Linked DNA regions of Homo sapiens: all the other regions are linked to region 1. The links are contacts of gene promoters, found by promoter capture Hi-C in blood cells and fetal thymus (Javierre and others, 2016). All regions are on one chromosome and are shown on one strand. The core of a region is centred on a gene start or on the middle of the fragment in contact, and the rest is flanking DNA. Distances in the headings are between cores, read along the strand shown. Region 1 holds the start of DPRX (divergent-paired related homeobox). Region 2 has its middle 140 kb from the start of MIMT1. Region 3 overlaps ZIM3 (zinc finger imprinted 3).

Evidence for each region. Contacts are between HindIII fragments. The CHiCAGO score rates a contact against its expected background, and 5 or more counts as called.
Region 2: a fragment that was not itself captured here is called in contact with the fragment with the promoter of DPRX in region 1 in 1 of 17 cell types (naive B cells); the score reaches 7.8 in naive B cells.
Region 3: a fragment that was not itself captured here is called in contact with the fragment with the promoter of DPRX in region 1 in 2 of 17 cell types (total B cells and non-activated CD4 T cells); the score reaches 6.4 in total B cells.

The regions. Positions count from the first base shown.
Region 1 is chr19:53,629,009-53,633,313 of GRCh38, reverse strand. It overlaps DPRX (divergent-paired related homeobox), which reads right to left and starts at 1,315. Exons shown (of 3, transcript NM_001012728.2): 1 at 1,180-1,315. The coding sequence starts at 1,207. It also overlaps the pseudogene RN7SL317P. The HindIII fragment of the contact is 17,175 bases long and covers 1-4,305 here.
Region 2 is chr19:56,974,730-56,979,420 of GRCh38, reverse strand. No RefSeq gene overlaps it. Among named protein-coding and RNA genes, the nearest start is that of MIMT1, 140 kb to the right of the region's middle. RefSeq lists an enhancer at 4,246-4,540 and a silencer at 4,246-4,540. The HindIII fragment of the contact is 1,499 bases long and covers 719-2,217 here.
Region 3 is chr19:57,135,847-57,140,458 of GRCh38, reverse strand. ZIM3 (zinc finger imprinted 3) reads left to right here. Exons shown (of 5, transcript NM_052882.1): 3 at 1,861-1,987; 4 at 3,488-3,586; 5 at 4,364-4,612. Among named protein-coding and RNA genes, the nearest start is that of ZIM3, 7.0 kb to the left of the region's middle. The HindIII fragment of the contact is 498 bases long and covers 1,778-2,275 here.

The DNA.
Region 1 (4,305 bases), core at 66-2,565:
TCACGGATGTCACCTTTTACTTTCTTTTTCTTGAGACAGTGTACTGCTGTGTTGCCCAGTGGCATGATCACAGCTCACTTCAGCCTCAACCTCCCCAGGCTCAAGCGATCCTCTCACCTCAGCCTCCCGAGTAGCTGGAACTACACAACACTGACATGCCCGGCTAATTTTTGTATTTTTTGTAGAGACAACGTCTTGTTTTGTTGCCCAGGCTGGTCTTGAACTCCTGGGCTGAAGCGATCTGCCCACCTCGGCCTCCCAAAGTGCTGGGATTACAGGCATGAGCCACCGCATGCCTCGCTCTAAAAGATCTGAATCGCATCATGCCTGAAAATGGTTTGGCAGCAGCTCCAGAGTCTAGTAAGTGCTCATGAACATGAGATTTCCAGCTTGGCTAAGCCTATATTCTATCTAGGACCTAATCATCCTCATAGGAATCAGATTCCCCTGTGCTCAAGAACAAGCATCGGGGTGGGAAGAATTAGGACACAACTACGAGGGAGAAGATTTCGGATTTGAAGGCAGAAACAGGCTTCCCTGCATTTGCCTGTGCTGTCAGATGACAGCCGCGGCCGGGCACCGAGGCTCATGCCTGTAATCCCAGCACTTTGGGAGGCCGAGGCCAGCCAATCACATGAGGTCAGGGGCTTGAGACCAACCTAGCTAACATGGTGAAACCCCATCTCTATAAAGATACAAAACTTGGGCCGGGTGCAGTGGCTCACGCCTGTCACCCCAGCACTTTGGGAGGCTGAGCCAGACGGATCACAAGGTCAGGAGTTCGAGACCAGCCTGGTCAATATGGTGAAACCCCCGGCTCTACTAAAAATACAAAAAAAAAAAAAATTAGCCAGGTGTGGTGGCGTGTGCCTGTCATCCCAGCTACTCGGGAGGCTGAGGCAGGAGAATTGCTTGAACCTGGGAGGTGGAGGTTGCAGTGAGCCGAAATCGTGCCACTGCACTCCAGCCTGAGCGACAGAGTGAGACTGTCTCAAAAGACAAACAAAACAAAACAAAACAACAACAACAAAAACGATGACAGCCTCTGTGGGAAGTCCCTGCCACCCACGTGGACGAAGCACCAGCTTCGGCCGCCTGGTCCCTCTGCCTTTTCCCGCCGCCAGCTGCTTTCCACTTCTTCACGTGTCTTTGCTTCGGTTCTCATTTTTTCTGGCTTACCTTTACGAAGATCCTCTGAGCCTGGCATCTTCTAATCCAGATGTGCGCCTGGGTTCAGGTCCAGGGATAAGAACTAGCAAAGATCAAATCCGGATTTAAGTAGCTTCCTCCACAGCCACACCCGACTCCCACCTCCTCCACCTTTCTCTGCCCTATCTGCCTCCAATATGATCCCTCGGTCCTCCAGAGCCCCCTGGATTTCTCCCAATACTGTCATTTTATCTAATATTGATTGAGCGGAGACCAACGACTCAAAGGCGAGTCCACAAACCAGCCCCACTAACACTCCTGGGAGTTGTTAAAATGCAGAATCCTGGCCCACTCCAGACTTCCTGAGCAGAAGCTGCAATTTCTTTTCTTTTTTTCTTTTTCTTTGAGACAGAGTCCCACTCTGTCACCCAGGCTGGAGCGCAATGACACCATCTTGGCTCACTGCAGCCTCTGCCTCCCAGGTTCAAGGGATTCTCATGTCTCAGCCTCCCGAGTAGCTGAGATCACAGGCCTGTGCCACCACTCCTGACTAATTTTTGTATTTTTAGTAGAGACGGAGTTTCCGCCATGTTGGCCAGGCTGGTCTTGAACTCCTGCCCTCAACGTTTCTGACTCGGTCTGGGGTGGGATCTGATGATTTCCATATCTAACAAGCACCCAGGTGACCAGGCTCCGTAATGGGGACCGGGAATGTGATTGTGAATAATGAAGTCCAGGTTTAAACCCTAAAGGGGCTTTCAGGCAACTTATATATTCTTTAGTGGCTAATATATGCTTGGCATTGTTCTGCATATCCTGATTTAGTTAACTCACTCAGAAATCATCTCATTTTATTTATTTATTTATTTATTTAGAGATGGAGTCTCACTCTGTCACCCAGGCTGGAGTGCAGTGGCACGATCTCGGCTCACAGCAACCTCCGCCTCTCAGGTTCAAGCAATTCTCCTGCCTCAGCCTTCCCAGTAGCTGGGATTACAGGCACCCACCACCAAGCCTGGCTAATTACAGGTGGCTCACACCTGTAATCCCAGCACTTTGGGAGGCTGAGGCAGGCGGATCACCTGAGGTCAGGAGTTCGAGACCAGCCTGGCCAACATGGCGAAACCCCATCTCTACTAAAAATACGAAAATTAGCTGGGTGTGGTGGTGGGCACCTGTAATCCCAGCTACTCAGGAGGCTGAGGCAGGAGAATTGCTTGAACCCAGGAGGCAGAGGTTGCAGTGAGCTGAGATCGCACCACTGCACTCCAGCCTGGGTGACAGGAGTGAGACTCCATCTCAAAAAAATAAAAGAAAAAGCTGCAACACCTTTCAGATGCCCAGGCTCACACCATGTATACCTTTTATCTTGACGACAAGGGCAGTTTGACTTCAGGTTCACAGAAGTGGCAGTTTTTCTTGCCATTCCATCCATTTGAATCTCAGTTCTGCACATCTCTACTTGTGACAGTGGTTAGCCTTTGCATAAATGAGCTTGTAGCTACTTTTTTTTTTCTTTTTGAGACAGGGTCTTGCTATGTCTCAAAAAACACAGCTGACTGCAGCCTCGACCTACTGGGCTCAAGTGATCCTCCTACATTTGCCCCCAAGTAGCTGTGACTACAAAGGCCTAGGCCCAGCCTGGAGTGCAGTGGCAAAATCATAGCTCAATGCAGCCTTAACCTCCTGGGCCTAGGTGAGCCTCTCACCTAAGCCTCCTGAGTAACTGGGACTACAGGTGCACACTACCATACCCAGCTAATTTTTGCATTTTTTGTAGAGAAGGGATTTTGGCTAGGCTAGTCTCAAAGTCTTAGGCACAAGCCATCCTCCCACCTCAGCCTCCCAAAGTGCTGGGATTAGTAAGAGGCAGTCTGTGTTGCTCAGGCTGGAGGGCAATTCACAAGCTGATTCCACTACTGATCAGCATGAAAGTTTTTTTTTTTTTTTTTGAGATGGAGTCTCACTCTGTCGCCCAGGTTAGAGTGCAGTGGCGTGATCCCGGCTCACTGCAACCTCTGCCTCCTGGGTTCAAGCAACTCTCCTGCCTCAGCCTCCCAAATAGCTGGGATTATAGGCACATGCCACCATGCCCAGCTAATTTTTTTTTTTGTATTTTTAGTAGAGACAGGGTTTCACCATGTTGGCCAGACTGGTCTCAAACTCCTGACCTCAGGTGATCCATCTGCCTTGGCCTCCCAAAGTGCTGGGATTACATGTGTGAGCCACTGTGCCCAGCCAGCATGAAAATTTTGACCTGCTCCATTTTCAACCTAGACCATTTCCCCACTTCTTAGGCAACCTGGTGGGAGGTCACCATATTGATGCCGAACTTAGTGTGGATGCCCAATTGGCAGAGCACATTACAGCCTAGAACTCCTGGGTTCAAGCCATCCTCCCGCCTCAGCCTCCCAAAGTGCTGGGATTACAGGTGTGAGCCACTGCACCCGGCCTGATGAACAGTATATCTTTAGAGGTGAATAAGACATACCAAGCAACAATTTTAAACCACATTTTTATCTTGTGATAGTGTCAGAAACCAATTTAAAAAGAGCCTGTAATCTGCCGTCTGTTTCTCTGGATTTATCTTTTCCAGGTATTTCATTAAAAAAAAAAAATCATAGGCCGGACACAGTGGCTCACACCTGTAATCCCAGCAGTTTGGGAGGCCAAGAAGGGAGGATCGCTTGAGCCCAGGAGACCAGCTTTTCAAAAACTAAAATAAAATTACATTATATAATATGTAACCTTTTGTGTGCTGGCTTCTTTTACTGAGCATGTTGTTTTCAAGGTTTATCCTCATGGTATAATGTGTCGGTATCTCATTCCTCTTTTTTTTTTTTTTTTTTGAGACAGAGTCTTGCTCTGTTGCCCAGGCTGGAGTGCAGTGGCAGGATCTCAGCTCACTGCAACTTCTCTGCCTCCTAAATTCAAGTGATTCTCATGCCTCAGTCTCCTGAGTAGGTGGGATTACAGGTGTGCACTAACACGCCTGGCTAATTTTCGTATTTTTAGTAGAGACCTGGTTTCACCATGTTGGCCAGGCTGGTCTCAAACTCCTGGCCTCAAGTGATCTGCCCGCCTCGGCCTCCCAAAGTGCTGAGATTACTGGTGTGAGCCACTGCGCCAAGCCCCTTTTACAGCTGAATTATACTC
Region 2 (4,691 bases), core at 219-2,718, 3.3 Mb before region 1:
GTCCTTCTCTCTGAAGCAATTGTAAGACTGTCATTCCAGCGTGCCCTCTCTGTACCCGTAGGAGAGGAGCATCCTTATCTCTGAAGACACTGAATCTGAACAAACAGGCCTTGAAAAGCTCCCCTCACTCTCTCACTCTTGTAGCATGAGAGCACACTGCCTCTGTCAAATACTTCTCCACAGCCATCCACTTCTTCATCAGACCAGCATCAAATATACACGTTTTTCTGTTTCTTTGGGTCTTTATTTCCTTGTGGAAGGCTCCCGTGTCACATAAAACTTATACTAAATAAATCTGTATGATTTTTTTTTTTGGTTGATCTGTCTTGTGTTACAGGGGCCTCAGTCATGAACCTAGCAATTGGTGAGGAAAAAGAGGCCAGGCACACTGGCCCATGCCTGCAATCCCAGCACTTTGGGAGGCTGAGGTAGGCAGATCGCTTGAGCTCAGGAGTTACAGATCAGCCTAGGCAATATGGCAAAACCCCATCTGTACAAAAAATACAAAAATTAACTGGGCGTTGTGGTGCGTATCTGTAGCCCCAGCTACTTGGGAGGCTGAGGTGGGAGGATCACTTGAGCCCAGGAGGTCGAGGCTTCAGTGACCGCACCACTGCATTCCAACCAGTGCCGCAGAATAAGACCCTGTCTCAAAACAAACAAACAAACAACAAACCACTGCCAAAAAGAAACCTTTTCTTCCCTACAGAGGTAAGCTTATGACCGGTGGGGCCAGGAGATTTGGCTTGGAGTGGCATCTGCATTATCCCACCTATTATGCGATGCTGGGTATTGCAAATAATAATAATAACATTAATGTGTATATATGATATACACAAACACACACGTGTATACATGCACGTAGCTTCAGTTTACAAAATTCACACTTTAGATTCTTCTAAATGATTTACAGTTACCTATGGACGTGTTTGGGGAATCCTGTTTTACGGGCATGTGCTGAGCACAGACGGGCACTATTCTGTGAGAGTGTCGTGAATGAGGCTATCGACTCAAAGTAACACAAGCCCCTGCTGTTTGTGAGAAGCACAGTGCAGGAAGGAAGGATAGGGCTGAGATGCCAGGGGCTGGAAGCCCCACCCCCCACCGCTCTGACACATCAAAATGAGCGGCTTTCTTCTCTGTCCTAGCGTTGACAACGTCCCCTTCACACACGCCCCCAGTTCCAGGAATTTCCGTGCTCTCCGCAGGGCAGAGAGGGCCTTGAACTCACAAATCAACAAACTCTGAAAGTGTAAACTGAAAACGTACGCTTGAAAAGAGGCCCAATATCCGTTTGGAAACAGGGGCGGTCACAGTATTCCCCTTTTTCATGAGACTGCACGCGTGCGTGGCAGTAAGGACCTAGAAAGGAGGATGAGGGTGGTTCAGGGGAGGGAAGCACAGAGGATGTGCATGTTCATGAGACTTTTGCATGTTTTGGGGATACAGGACATGATGTTGTGTTGGTGGTACAGGGCCCAGGGCTGATTTCCTCATGGGCTGATGTTTAGGACACCAGGCCTGGCAATACCTTAGAGGTTCAGATCAGGAGCGGACTCAGTGGGTTATCCTTGGACTCTTGAGGAGAAAACATGCAAAAAATAGAATCCCCTGATGTTATCTATTGGGCTGGCAAAACTGATATTTTCTGGGGTTTAGCAATGTGAGGCTTCGGGACAGGTCCTCTTCATGGATGTCAAATTGGCATCTTCAGCCAACGCGTTCACATCAAAATTGTCAGTCCCCCTCAAAATTCTACTCCTCACCCCCAAGTCTCCCCAGTCTCTATAAAAGGCACTACCCAGTCTGCAAGAGCCCAAACTCGAAACGTAGACATCATCCTCTGTCATCCTCTGTGCTTCTCACTCTCATGACGTAATGAGATTCAATCCACTTCTGTTCACCTTCGTCCAGGTACCAACACCTCTCCCTAGATAACTATCACATCTTGATGATGAGGGTCACTCCTGTCCCCATGATAAGTCTATCCTCCAAAAAAATCAAGCTGCAGACCTTCTGCAAATGAGTCAGATAATGTCATTCTCTCACCCACCTTCCATGCCAACTGAGCCTAGATCGGTGGCTCTAGAACACTTGGATTAAAAGGAAAGCTACCCGTGGTTGGCCCACAAGGTCGGTGGCAACCTGGCTCTTGTCTGCTGCTTTCCTTACCCACCACCCCCTGGCCATGCTGTCCTCACTGTCCCTGAAAAAGCTTCCTGCCCCAAGACCTTCACTCTTGCCTTTCCTCTAATTGGAATTTCCTTTCCCCACAGTCCCCATGGCTGTTTCTTTCCCAATTTTCACGTTTCAGCTCAAAGGTCATATCCTCAAAGGCAGACCTGGGGATTAGGAAGAGGCTTACGGAGGTGCACAGTCATCCAGAAAGCTGAGGGGTTCAGGGACGGGAGATGTTGGTCCAAAGACACAAAATTTCAGTCATGAAGGAGGAATACGTTCCGGGGATTATACCACATGGTGAGTATGGTTAATTTTATTTAAGATAAATAATATTTAACACAATGGTTTTGAAAACCAAAATGAACGCAGAAAGCAACCCCCCATAATGGATGAACAAATACTCAAAATTTAAATCAAACCCAATGTGTGCTGAGCTGTACTGAAGCCCGAGGCCAAAAAAAAAAGTGTGATTCCCTATATCCGTGTGATTGTGCAATTTTTTTTTTTTTTTTTTTTGGTAGAGACTGGGTTTCGCTCTGTTGCCCAAGCTGGAGTGCAGTGGTGACTCGGTGAATAGTATTACCATCCAAAATTCATCCATTCCTGCCTCTGTCCTTGGCTATTACCCTAATCGTAGCCTCCTATCATGTCCACAGCCCACTCTTGACCTAGTGGCCACACAGCCCAGAGAAGTCCCTGAGCAAATATTTGTTCTTGAAGATTGCTTCAGCCTCGACCTCCTGGCCTCAAGCAAGCCTCCCATTTCAGCTTCCAAAGTAGCTGGGACTAGAGATATGCAACACCATTTCTGACTTTTTAAAAATTTTCTGTAGAGATAGAGTCTTTCTATCTTGCCTAGTCTGGTCTTGAACTCCTGGTCTCAAGTAATCCACCCGCCTCAGCCTTCCAACATGCTGGTATTACAGGTGTGAGCTCTCTCACGCAGCTTGTAATTATTTAATGGTTCACTCCCCACCCCCACAGAATATTAGTTTTAAAAATGTTGAAAAAAGGAAAAATAGCTATATTAAACTCGCAATGTCTTATGTTAATTTTATGTGTTAAAAATAGAATTTATTATAATTTTATTTTCCCGGCCTCAGTGGAAGCAGACTCATCAATAATATTTTCAAAATCTATTTCTGGAAAATAACCATTAAAAAATACATAACCGGGAGGCTGAGGCAGGAGAATCGCTTGAACCAGGGAGTTGCAGGTTGCAGTGAGCTGAGATTGTGCCACCGCACTCTAGCCTGGCAACAGAGACTTCGTCTCAAAGAAAAAAAAAAAAACAGTAGCAACATGCTTAGGGTCATACGCACTTTTCCTTTTGCCTGAGGGTCTGATGTAGCTCAGCACAGTCTCATAGGGTCCTGTCTTTATTTAAATTTTTAATATTTTGTTTATCACGTTTTTTTGTACATGAATTTTTTTTTCAAATACTGCATGAAAATATTGTTTATCTTGATGACTGAGTGTTTTGTGCTGTTGTTTATTGAGCTTGCTGTGTGGCCATTATTCCCTTGTTCATTTAATTCTCATGCCGACCCTGGGAGCGAGGTCTTCTTCTTTTTTTTTTTTTACAAATGAGGAAGCTGTGGCTCAGAGGATTAGGTGGCCGTGGTGTGATGGATTCTGTCCAGGCTAGTCTGATTCCACAGTCAGACAGAATGAGAGGAGGCCACCCCTTTCCTCTCTGTGCCTCAGAGGCCTCATCAGGAATGTGGGAAGGTGATCACGCCTGCCCTGCAGATATGCCGTGCCACGGGCATCCAGTAGAAAGCTACGTGCAGAACAAGTATAATACATATTAATTACTTCATTATCATAGTCGTGATGAGGTGGGAGGATGGCTTGAGCCCATGAGTTTGAGGCTGCAGTGAGCTATGATCACAGCCCTGCACTCCAGCCTGGGTGACAGAGAAAGACCCTGCCTCTAATAAATAAATAAATAAAATAAAATAAAAATAAGTAATGATTGTAATGATAATGTTGATGGTGTATCTATTGGCAACCCTGGCCCCATCCTAAATTTGAAACTGCTGATTCTAAAAATACAAAAATCCTTTGTCTCAGTTAACAGTTCCACCATCCAAAACACATCCATGCTGCCTCTCTCCCTGGCTAGTGCCCTAATCGCAGCCTCCTCTCATGTCCACCCCTGCCCTAGTGGCCACACAGCCCAGAGTGTCCCTGGACAAAGTATTTGTTCTCTTTGAAGTTTATCTCTACGTGACTGTCTGTTTGACCTCCTCCACTCTCTCCCATTAGCTAAGCCGGCTTCCAGGCCCTAGGAATCTCAGTGCTCTACAGAAAGCCCGGCATGGAGTAAATGCTCAGTTAATATTGATGATGCTCATAATTCCTAATTTTAACAGCTAAATTATAAATCCCAAGTCCTTACCACCTACAAGGACCTTCTTGATCCAACATCCCTTCCTTCTCTCCTTGACTCTCCCTAACAGGACTTCAGCCATCTTGGTCTCCTCATCCTTCCCAGAATGCACTCC
Region 3 (4,612 bases), core at 777-3,276, 3.5 Mb before region 1:
CATCCCTTTAATCCCAGCTCTTCGGGAGGCCGATGCGGGCAGATCACTTGAGGTCAGGAGTTTGAGACCAACCTGGCCAACATGGTGAAACCCGTCTCTACTAAAAGTACAAAAATTAGCCAGGTGTCGTGGTGCGCGCCTGTAATCCCAGCTGCTCAGGAGGCTGAGGCAGGAGAATCGCTTGAACCCAGGAGGTGGAGGTTGCAGTGAGCCGAGATTGTGCCACTGCACTCCAGCCTGGGCTACCAGAGTGAGCCTCTGTCCCCTTCCCCGCCAAAAAAAATTAATAAATAAACAAAATTTTAAAAAAGCGAGCTAGAGCACAAACACAACTAAAAAATTTATCTGTCCAAGAGGACACTAGGTGCTGGCTCTTAGAGGTGAGATTTTCAGTTTCTGACAAAGGAATTCGCTTTACAAGTGTGACTTCCAACACTGTGAGTGTTGAGTGGCAGGGGCAAAATGCTGCCGTAAGTCCAGTATGGCTGCAGGAGAGACCCAGGGGAGTGCTGTGTGACCCTGTGTGAGTGGGAGTGTGGTAGACATGCCAGACGCTGGCCCCTGTAACAGGTGTCACCTGTTTCTCCCAAATGCAAGGAAAGCTGATAAATTAGGGGAGCGCACCATCCAGTCTGAATGTCGACTGTGGAAAATAGATTACAGTCAGTTTAGATGTAGCTGGAAGAATTAGGGGGCTATTGGCTTATTCTACTTATTTATGTATTTATTTATTTGAGATGGAGTCTCACTGTCACCCAGGCTGGAGTGCAGTGGTGTGATCTCAGCTCACTGCAACCTCCACCTCCCAGGGTTCAAGCGATTCTCCTGCCTCAGCCTCCTGAGTAGCTGGGATTACAGGCGCGCACCACGACACCTGGCTAATTTTTGTATTTTTAGTAGAGATGGGGTTTCACCATGTTGACGAGGCTGGTCTCGAACTCCTGACCCCGGGTGATCCACCTGTCTCAGCCTCCTGAAGTGCTGGGATTATAGGTGTGAGCCACCATGCCAGGCCTCTATTTAAAAAAGAATTTCTAATAGAGGCAGGATGTCTTAAAGAAAAATGGAAAATAGAAAAAAAATATAATAACATTTTCTTTTCTTTTCTTTTTCTTTTTCTTTTTTTTCTTGAGACAGAGTTTTGCTCTTGTTGCCCTGGCTGGAGTGCAGTGGCGCAATCTTGGCTCACTGCAGCCTCCACCTCCTGGGTTCAAGTGATTCTCCTGCCTCAGCCTCCTGAGTAGCTGGGATTACAGGCGCCTGCCACCATGCCTGGCTAATTTTTTGTATTTTTAGTAGAGATGGGGTTTCTTCATGTTGGCCAGACTGGTCTCGAACTCCTGACCTCAGGTGATCCACCCGCCTCGGCCTCCCAAAGTGCAGGGATTACAGGTGTGAGCCACCGTGCCCGGCCAAAATAATAAAATGTTCTTTGAGATAGGGGTTTTGCTATGTTCCCCAGCTAGCCTCAAACTCCTGGCCTCAAGCAATCCTCCTGCCTCGGCCTCCCAAAATGTTGGGATGATAGGTGTGAGCCACCATACTCGGCCTCTGCCTTACTCTAAGTAAAAGATGACAAGGTGGATTTATGAATGGTGGAGAAGATGGAAACTAATGGCTGGGTTTGAGATTCAGGAAGTAAAATTGGTGGGACTAGAGGGTGGAGAAAGATGGCAGTGTCATGAGTAGGTCTAAGGTTTATGGCTCATTGGCAAGATCCTCTGGGCACAATTTATTTTCATCCAGAGTAGAGTGAATTATGGACATGATTAAAGCTTGGTTCAGCAGAAACAAGTTTCTGTATCCTCAGCCGCAGGATTCAATGGCATTTTTATACTGATCGGGAATCTGTTGTTACAGGGAAGAGTGACCTTCGAGGATGTCACTGTGAACTTCACCCAGGGGGAGTGGCAGCGGCTGAATCCCGAACAGAGAAACTTGTACAGGGATGTGATGCTGGAGAATTACAGCAACCTTGTCTCTGTGGGTAAGGACGGCTTCCCGGGCAGGGGGACTCAAAACCTAAGGCGTGAAACACACAGACACCCCATGGCTGGCCAAATAGGGTTGGCACAGAGGTGCTCCTCACTTCGCATATGTTTTTGTAGAGCCGGGACTAGGGTGAGGCAAGTGAAGTGTACCAAGTGCTGTATTGAAGGAGCCCCCATTCTCAGGGTCGGCAAGTGCCGGGAGAATGAGTGAGGGCCTCTGTAAGTTTTGTGGGCTGGGTGCCCTGCCCTTCACCCTACTCCTGGTCTTGATTTTTGGAAAAGCTTTATCCTCCAAGAAGAAAAAGCATTTCTTTCTTTCCCTTCCTTCCCTCCCTCCCTCCCTCCCTCCCTCCCTGCCTCCTTCCCTTCCTCCCTTCCTACCTCCCTTCTTTCCTTCCTTCCTTCCTTCCTTCTTTCCTTCCTTCCTTCCTTCTTTCCTTCCTTCTTTCCTTCCTTCCTTCCTTCTTTCCTTCCTTCCTTCCTTCTTTCCTTCCTTCTTTCCTTCCTTCCTTCCTTCTTTCCTTCCTTCCTTCCTTCCTTCCTTCTTTCCTTCCTTCCTTCCTTCTTTCCTTCCTTCTTTCCTTCCTTCCTTCCTTCTTTCCTTCCTTCCTTCCTTCCTTCCTTCCTTTCTCCCTCCCTCCCTCTCTCCATTCCTCTCTCTTTCTTTATCTCCTTTCTCCTAACAGGGTCTGGCTGTGTCACCGAGGCTGGAGTGCAGTGGTGCAATCATAGCTCACTGTAGTATTTTTTTTTTTTGGAGACAGTCTCGCTCTGTCACCCAGGCTGGAGTGCAGTGGTGTGATCTCGGCTCACTGCAACCTCCGCCTCCCAGGTTCCAGTGATTTTCCTGCCTTAGCCTCCCGAGTAGCTGGGATTACAGACGTGCACCACCATGCCTGGCTAATTTTTGTATTTTTTGCACAGATGGGGTTTCTCCATGTTGGTGAGGCTAGTCTTGAACTCCTGACCTCAGATAACCGGCCCGCCTCAGCCTCCCAAAGTTCTGGTATTACAGGCATGAACCACCACGCCTGGCGTCACTGCAACATTGACCTGGGCTCAAGCCATCCTCCCACCTCAGCCTCCTGAATAGCTGGGACCACAGACGTGCACCACCACACGTGGCTTTGGTTTTGTAGAGACTGGGTCTTGCTATCTTCATGTTACATGTAACATGTTGGTCTCAAATTCCTGTGCTCTAGCAATTCTCCTATCTCGGCCTCCCAAAGTGCTGGGATTACAGGCATGAGCCGCCACACCCAGCCCAGAAAAAGCATTCTTTGTTTAGTTCGACTGCTCAGGTGCATTCCCTCAAACCATCCATCCACACAACTCCCCCCAACCAATGGCACATACCCACACACTGACATATAAATGCTCACACTCACACACAAATATTCACACAAGCATACGCAAGCGCTTATATACACTCATACACTTGCACAAACAACTCACACATCCACAAACACCAAGCCTTGCGGTATCTTCCATCACAGGACAAGGGGAAACCACCAAACCCGATGTGATCTTGAGGTTGGAACAAGGAAAGGAGCCATGGTTGGAGGAAGAGGAAGTGCTGGGAAGTGGCCGTGCAGGTAGGTGACCAGGAGAGCACTGTGGGTCAATGGTGCATGGAAGCCAATTCAGCTTTTCTAAATGAGGAAGTCGTTTGGCAGCCAGCTGTGACTTCCTGGGAGTGCTGGAAGAAATCTCCAGGTATTTTTCTCCACTCAGAAATTTCTTTACATTCTTATCTGGGTTTTCCTTTGCAGGCAAACTCTTTTTTTTTTCTTTTTTTTTTTTTTCTGGAAACGGAGTCTCTGTCGCCCAGGCTGGAGTGCAGTGGCGCGATCTGGGCTCACTGCAACCTCCGCCTCCCGAGTTCGAACGATTCTCCTGCCTCAGCCTCCCGAGTAGCTGGGATTACAGGCACTTGCCACCATGCCCGGCGAATTTTTTGTATTTTTAGTAGAGACAGGGTTTCGCCATGTTGGTCAGGCTGGTCTTGAACCCCCGACCTCAGGCAATCCACCCGCCTCAGCCTCCCAAAGTGCTAGGATTACAGGTGTGAGCCCCTGTGCCTGGCCTGGCAAACTCTCTTTCTTAATCTCCCTCTCCCTGGTATCCCTAGGCTCTCACCTGCTCCCTGTGCACTAGGTCTACGTTGCTCAGTCCTTTACAGACAGATATGTGATAGCTTCATGTAACATTAGCTCACATAGAACTCTAACAGAGCTTATATTAACTTTGGTTTCTCGTAGACATTAGGTTTGAAGCCAGAATAATCACCACAATAGATTGTTTATGGCATTTTATTTCAAGCATGTGAGTGGAACGTTTTACACAGGACATTTTTTTGTATTCCATTTTAGAAAAAAATGGGGACATTGGAGGGCAGATTTGGAAGCCAAAGGATGTGAAAGAGAGTCTCGCAAGAGAAGTCCCATCAATCAATAAGGAAACGCTGACTACGCAGAAAGGTGTAGAATGTGACGGATCTAAGAAAATACTTCCACTGGGCATAGATGATGTATCTTCCTTGCAACACTATGTACAAAATAATTCTCACGATGATAATGGATACAGAAAATTAGTTGGCAATAATCCATCCAAATTTGTAG